Regions from separate parts of the Homo sapiens genome. Here region 2 is linked to region 1. The links are contacts of gene promoters, found by promoter capture Hi-C in blood cells and fetal thymus (Javierre and others, 2016). All regions are on one chromosome and are shown on one strand. The core of a region is centred on a gene start or on the middle of the fragment in contact, and the rest is flanking DNA. Distances in the headings are between cores, read along the strand shown. Region 1 holds the start of FOXB2 (forkhead box B2). Region 2 overlaps PRUNE2 (prune homolog 2 with BCH domain).

The links. Contacts are between HindIII fragments. The CHiCAGO score rates a contact against its expected background, and 5 or more counts as called.
Region 2: a contact is called between a fragment that was not itself captured here and the fragment with the promoter of FOXB2 in region 1, in 1 of 17 cell types (M0 macrophages). The highest score is 5.0, in M0 macrophages.

What each region holds. Positions count from the first base shown.
Region 1 is chr9:77,017,876-77,021,383 of GRCh38, forward strand. FOXB2 (forkhead box B2) reads left to right here and starts at 1,780. Exons shown (of 1, transcript NM_001013735.1): 1 at 1,780-3,078. The coding sequence starts at 1,780. The coding sequence ends at 3,078. The HindIII fragment of the contact is 5,221 bases long and covers 1-3,508 here.
Region 2 is chr9:76,755,479-76,758,761 of GRCh38, forward strand. The region is part of intron 6 of PRUNE2 (prune homolog 2 with BCH domain); the gene reads right to left. Among named protein-coding and RNA genes, the nearest start is that of PCA3, 7.3 kb to the right of the region's middle. RefSeq lists enhancers at 141-190, 801-870. The HindIII fragment of the contact is 264 bases long and covers 1,900-2,163 here.

The sequences.
Region 1 (3,508 bases), core at 530-3,029:
GGGACCCCTGAATCCCCAACTCTTACTTCTGGCCCCAGCTCAGACATCGCCATCCCAGAGAAACCTCATCTTGTCCAACTCACTCGCTCCAGGAAAGTGTGGTGGAGCCTCCATTCGCCAAGCCCTTTAGTGCCTATTCTATTAATTTCTTGGTTACTGTTCGTCTCACCCTCTATACCGCGATGGTGGAGCTCGGATACTGTCTCCTGTCTCCCTGCACCTGGTGCCTCACATGCAGTTGGCGCGCAATAAAACTGAGATGAATTTGGCATTTGGTGAAAACACCCCATGCTTTCTTCCCCATGAGTTTTTCCCTCCAGCCCTCTAATCATCGGGGTTTCTTGCAGAGAAGAGGCCTTGAGGACACGATACTCTGAACTTGACCCAGAGTGTCTAGCCCAGGAAAAAGGGTTTGTAAGGAGAGAGAAGCTCACAGCGAGTAGATGAAAACAGGGAAGGGTAAAAGGAAGGGGGCGGAAGAGGGAGATGCCAGAGAGAAGAGAAGCAAGAAGGCAGTGTCCTGTTCCCCCTCCACCGTGCTTGGTGGCCCGGGTGGGGCGCAGCTGCGGGAAATGCACCCGGAGCTGTGCCCCCTCCCGGCGAACAGCCTGCGCCACCCGCCGCACCGGGAGGTGGCTGGGGGCTGCCGAGCGAGTGGTGAACGCGATGGGTGGAGAGCGCCCGAAACGAGGTGGAAAAGGGGGCGGGGGCGAGGCACGGCGCCTTCTTGCCCCTTCTTCAGCTACAGACGCGGCGGCGGCGGCTGAGTCCCTCAGCCTCGGTCATGTGATAGTCTCGAAGCGCTAGCTGCGGGGGTCTCGGCGTCTCGGGGACCATTACAAAACGCAGCCAGGAGAGCGCGTCGCTGCCACTGCCGTCGCCTCTCCTCCTCAAGACAAGCCCGGGAGAAAGGCGGCAGCTGCGGCGCGGACGGCTGAGCCTCCCCGGCCAGCACTCACCCAGCATTCGCAGACGCCCTCTCCAGCCCGCCGCTCGCTCCCAGAGTCCTGCGCCCCACACTCCTCAGCAGAACCTGCGGGCGCTGCCGCTTCAGAAACCACCAAAGTTTTTTCTCCTCAGCGACAGCCTAGGGCTGCGCGTCTCTTCTAACCCCGGCGACGCTGCGAGCCTCGGAGAAAAGAGAGGCGCCCTAGAAGCCAATCTTCTCTCTCCTTACCCTGATTTTTCACTCCAGGAAAAGGAGAACTCCAGCGCGGTCTGGCTAAGTGCCTGGCCAGGGGCCTGCGTCCAGGGCACTGGAAGTCCTGCTGTCACTGGCCTCCAGGACAGCAGGCGCAAACTCAGATTTAAAGGGCCAGAGTCTCTACTGCCCAGACCTTCCTCCCAGCCATCTTGGTCTGGGTTTCCCTCGGACCTAGAAAAAGCAAAGAGGCCGGGAGGAAACACGGCCCCTTGCCACTCTCCTCTGCAGCCAGCTCCAGCACTCAGTCTTTGGCCACCCGGGGGAAGACGCAGAGAAGGCGGCGGTAAACCTGGTGCACTCCGCCCGCGACTGTGCGCGCCAGTCGGCAACCGTCGGGGCCAGAAGTTGCCAGCTTCCGAGAGCTGAGTAGGCCCGAAAGGCCAAGGTCGGAGACACCAGGCAATTCGGAGAAGGCAGGAGAGAGAAGCAGAGAGGGCCTGGAGGGCGAGAGGGCAAAGTGGCGGGACTGGAGGGGCCGAGTGGGAATTAGTGGGGGCAGCCAGGCCCCAGGAACGGAGTGCGGAGAGATTCTGTGGTCCAGTGCGGGCCGGAGGGCGGTGGAGGAGCCGGGGGCGATGCCGCGGCCGGGGAAGAGCTCGTACAGCGACCAAAAACCGCCCTACTCTTACATCTCGCTGACCGCCATGGCAATCCAGCACTCGGCCGAGAAGATGCTGCCGCTGAGCGACATCTACAAGTTCATCATGGAGCGCTTCCCCTACTACCGCGAGCACACACAGCGCTGGCAGAACAGCCTGCGCCACAACCTCTCCTTCAACGACTGCTTCATCAAGATTCCGCGGAGGCCCGACCAGCCTGGCAAGGGTAGCTTCTGGGCGCTGCACCCCGACTGCGGGGACATGTTCGAGAACGGCAGCTTCCTGCGGCGTCGCAAGCGCTTCAAGGTGCTGCGCGCCGACCATACTCACTTGCACGCGGGAAGCACCAAGAGCGCGCCGGGCGCCGGTCCGGGAGGGCACCTTCACCCCCATCACCACCACCACCCCCACCACCACCATCATCACCACGCTGCCGCACACCACCACCATCACCACCACCCACCCCAGCCGCCGCCGCCGCCGCCCCCGCCGCCGCCGCACATGGTACACTATTTCCATCAGCAACCGCCTACTGCTCCGCAGCCGCCTCCGCACCTCCCGTCACAGCCCCCGCAGCAACCGCCCCAGCAGTCGCAGCCTCAGCAGCCGTCTCACCCCGGCAAGATGCAGGAGGCGGCGGCCGTGGCGGCGGCGGCGGCGGCGGCCGCGGCAGCCGCGGTGGGCAGCGTGGGACGCCTGTCTCAGTTCCCACCCTACGGGCTGGGCTCGGCCGCCGCCGCTGCCGCCGCGGCCGCGGCGTCCACGTCAGGCTTCAAGCACCCCTTTGCCATTGAGAACATTATTGGCCGGGACTACAAGGGCGTGCTGCAGGCTGGAGGGCTGCCCTTGGCGTCCGTCATGCACCACCTGGGCTACCCCGTGCCCGGCCAGCTTGGCAACGTCGTCAGCTCCGTGTGGCCGCACGTTGGCGTCATGGATTCGGTGGCCGCCGCCGCGGCCGCCGCAGCCGCAGCCGGAGTCCCTGTAGGCCCGGAGTATGGGGCCTTCGGGGTCCCGGTCAAGTCCCTGTGCCACTCGGCAAGCCAGAGCCTGCCTGCCATGCCGGTGCCCATCAAGCCCACGCCTGCGCTGCCGCCCGTGTCCGCGCTGCAGCCGGGGCTCACTGTCCCCGCGGCTTCGCAGCAGCCTCCGGCGCCATCCACCGTGTGCTCCGCGGCCGCGGCCTCGCCCGTTGCCTCTCTGCTGGAGCCCACAGCCCCTACCTCGGCCGAAAGCAAGGGCGGCTCCTTGCACTCGGTGCTAGTGCACTCCTAGGGGACCCGGCGGGCGTGGGGAGACCAGCGGGGTGAGAGACGCCGGGCCCGGAACCGCCCAAACCACCCGACGGGGAGAGGGCGCCCTGGTCAGGCCGGGCAGAGCTGGCGAGTCTCAGCCTTTGCTGGAACGGAAGGTATTTAAATAGACGAACAACCCCGAAAAGTGGATTCTCCAGTGGTCTGAATAAATATAACCTTCCTGGTGTCTGTGTTTATACTATGTTGTACAATCAGATTAATGAAAGCCAATTTTCAGGTAAGAGTTTCTATTGTAATTAATATAAATCCATAAGTTATGGGGGGAGGGAACGAAGGAGGTTAGGAAAGCCTCATTCGCTGGTAAATTGGAAGTCGATTCTGACCCTTATTCCTGGGAGCAGAAGCTGGCAGAGCTAAACCTCCCGCGAAGAATCCAACAGAGAGTGACG
Region 2 (3,283 bases), core at 782-3,281, 260 kb before region 1:
TGGCTAAGCATTCAAGAAGCTACACTGTCTAGTGGGGGTGTGGACAAAGAACGCTGGGAGGAGAGGGCAGGAATCTAGAAGCCTGCCTTGAGGAGTCAGGGAAGGCATTCAAGGGGCAAGAAGGGGTCTTATTAAAATGCAGATTCTGATTCAGATACCTCGGGGAGAATCTGGATTTCTCACAAGCTTCCAGGTAACGCTCAATCTGCTGCTGACCATACTTTGTTTTTGTTTCTGTTTTGAGTCAGGGTCTCACTTTGTCACCCCAGGCTGGAGTGCAGTGACGCAATCTCGGCTCACTGCAGGTCGACTTCCCTAGTTCAAACGATTGTCTCGCTTCAGCCCGCCAAGTAGCTGAGACCACAGGTGCACGCCACCACGCCCCGGTAAATTTTTGCATTTTTAGTAGAGACAAGGTTTTGCCATGTTGTCCAGGCTGATCTTGAACTCCTGAGCTTAAGTGATCCACCTGCCTCGGCCTCCCAAAGTGCTGGGACTATAGGCGTGAGCCACCGCGCCTGGCCAGGGGATCATACTTTGAGGAGCGAAACTTTCAAATAATTTCCTGGTGGTCCTTCCCTTTCACCTCCTACCAACCACCAGCTTTGGCTACTAAGAAAGTGAAAGTAGATGAAAAATATTTAAAATTAACAAACCTCAGCTCTTCACAGAGCCATTTTGATGAATATCTGAAAATCCCCCAACTAATGAGAGGTCATGTAAGTGCATATGTCAAAAGGAACTGCTTTTTTAAGATAAAAAATTACTCTTGATTTAATGTATTCCACATTTATCAGTGACTTACCCTAACGTCTCTTCTAATCTGCATGAAAACGTCTCTGTATATCCTGGATCACTTACGGCACCCAGGAACTGTGAAGCTGGCCTAAACCAGTCCCTGGCAGCTCTCCTCTTTGAATTGGTAAACCCCTGGGAGCTGCCTGTATGGCTCACTGGCCAGATGGCGCTGCTTCCCCATTCTTTCCAGAGTTGCATGGCTGTCGCAACTAGGAACCAGGCGCTGGCTTTCCATCCTAACATTTGAATGCTTCCTCCATCAGAACAGCTGCATTCTCTTTGCCAACACATGTGTTTTTCAAAATCTCATTAGACATCTAACATTTTCAGCCAGATTGTGTCCTGAAGGCACTGTGGCCTCCCAGGAGGATTCCCTGAGTCTGGAAAAGGTACTAGGATGAGGAAAAGGCAGGTTATTAAAAAGTGGGAAACAGAGGACCTGCTTCAAGTCTGCAAACCTTTGTCATGGAAGCAAAATGGATGTTTCACGCCAAGTGTGAGAAAGCCTCCATCACCAGGGACAGGGGGGTGCCTTGATGCTTGATGCTGTTCCCCACCCACCCTGCCCGTGCCCTGCCCCCCCGTGATACTTAAACTGCAGTATTTGCAGCATTTTTGGGGGGCTGGAATAGCCAATGCAAGCAAAGTGTTTAATCAGTATTAATCTCCCAGAATGTCACTGTTACCAGCTATCAATCTGCATAAATTCTACTGCAAAACTTTAGGAAGAAATGCTATTCAGAGCAAATGATGCATCAAATTCAAACAGGCCATCAAGACTGCTAATGGATTTTAATAGCAGCTATTACAGCATAATAGTATTTTCCCAACAGCTGTTTGTTGATACAATTCTGCATTTACAGGACCTTTATATCCAATCCCAGGAGATGGCTCACCATTCATTTATAATCATTTGGTTCCACCTACAAACAAATGCTACTTTATTTGCATTTGGAGATTGTGAATGGTCTGCAGATCTGACCTACTCCCACCTCATTCAATGAAACCAGCAGCGAATATTACAAGCTAGATTAATTAGTTAATATTTAGATGTACTAACTACTGCCAGAAAAATACTGTCAACTGGCAAACTCAAAGAGAAGCTTTTTTTGATTGCTTGGCTGCATTCTGAGTCATGTTAGTTTTGAAAACTGCTTTTTACTCGTATGTAAATGAGTAAAGGGCCTAAACTAGGATTCAGACTGAAATTTCAGAAACTAAAGCATCTATAAACCATTCTAAGTTTTTCTGCTTGAGATGACTAATATTAGAGAATGCCAATAAATCACTGCCAGAGTGAAGGGCTCAACTGGTAATAATTGCGATAATAACTGAAGTGAGGAAGAATTTATTAATGAAGCTCAAAGCTTTGTTTCTTGTGGAATGGTCAAGAGATTACAACAGGCCAGGCATGGTGGCTCATACCTGTAACTCCAGCATTTTGGGAAGCAGAGGCAGGGAATCACTCGAGACCAGCCTGGGTAACATGGAGAAATCCCATCTCTACAAAAATTAGCTGTACATGGTGGCATGCATCTATAGTTCCAGTGACTCAGGAAGCTGAGGCAGGAGGATCCCTGGGCCCCACCCAAAAAAAGAGAGATTAGAATAGATCCCGAAAGTCTTAGTGCAGTTTTAAGCTTTAATGACTTCAGAAACATGCATACTAAAAACTTACATAAAACATCATTTGAAAGTTTGTTTTCATTCCTTTTATACTGATTTAGTTCTGTGAATTAAAAAATTTTTTAAATAATAATTTTTTCTTCTGGTTAACCTTTGCTATCTTCAATCAGGAGACTATAACAAAATAGAAAGTTCAAAATACATTATTCAAAACTTATAAAACTAATAGAGTAAAAGAGATGAAAATAACTAAACTTCCAAAAGCAGCGTTTTGTAAGCTTATAGTATTTCTATATCTGACAGTATTAACGCATAAAACTGCACTGAGGCTTTTGGGACCAACTGTGTAGAACTTAAATAAATGCAAACTTGGTGAAACTAAGAAGTAATGCTGAAGTCACCCTCCTGTCCAGCCATGGGTGGTATGGTTCTTAAAGGAATCTGCATGCATAACTCCTAGTATTTTCAGTCCAGGAGGTGCTGAGGGGTTTCCTTGCTTAGTGCTGCAGAGAGTTGCAGAAGAATCAAGTGGGAATAACAATGATAGGAAATAATTGCTCTGTTGAATCAGGGTGTCTGGTTGTTATATCTTTAAAAAAATTTTTTTTTTTTTTTTTTAGACAGAGTCTCACTGTCAGTTAGGATGGAGTGCAGCACCGTGATACTAGCTCACTGCAGTCTCAAGCCTCAAGGGCTGCTCCCGCCTCAGCCTCCTGAGTAGCTGGGACTACAGGCAAGCATCACAATGCCCAGATGAATCACGGTGTTTGGAAAGGATGCAGGCATTTTCTACCCCACAGAACTTTACAATCCATACAAGCATTTCTCTCTACATTATCACATTTAACCCTCAACACAA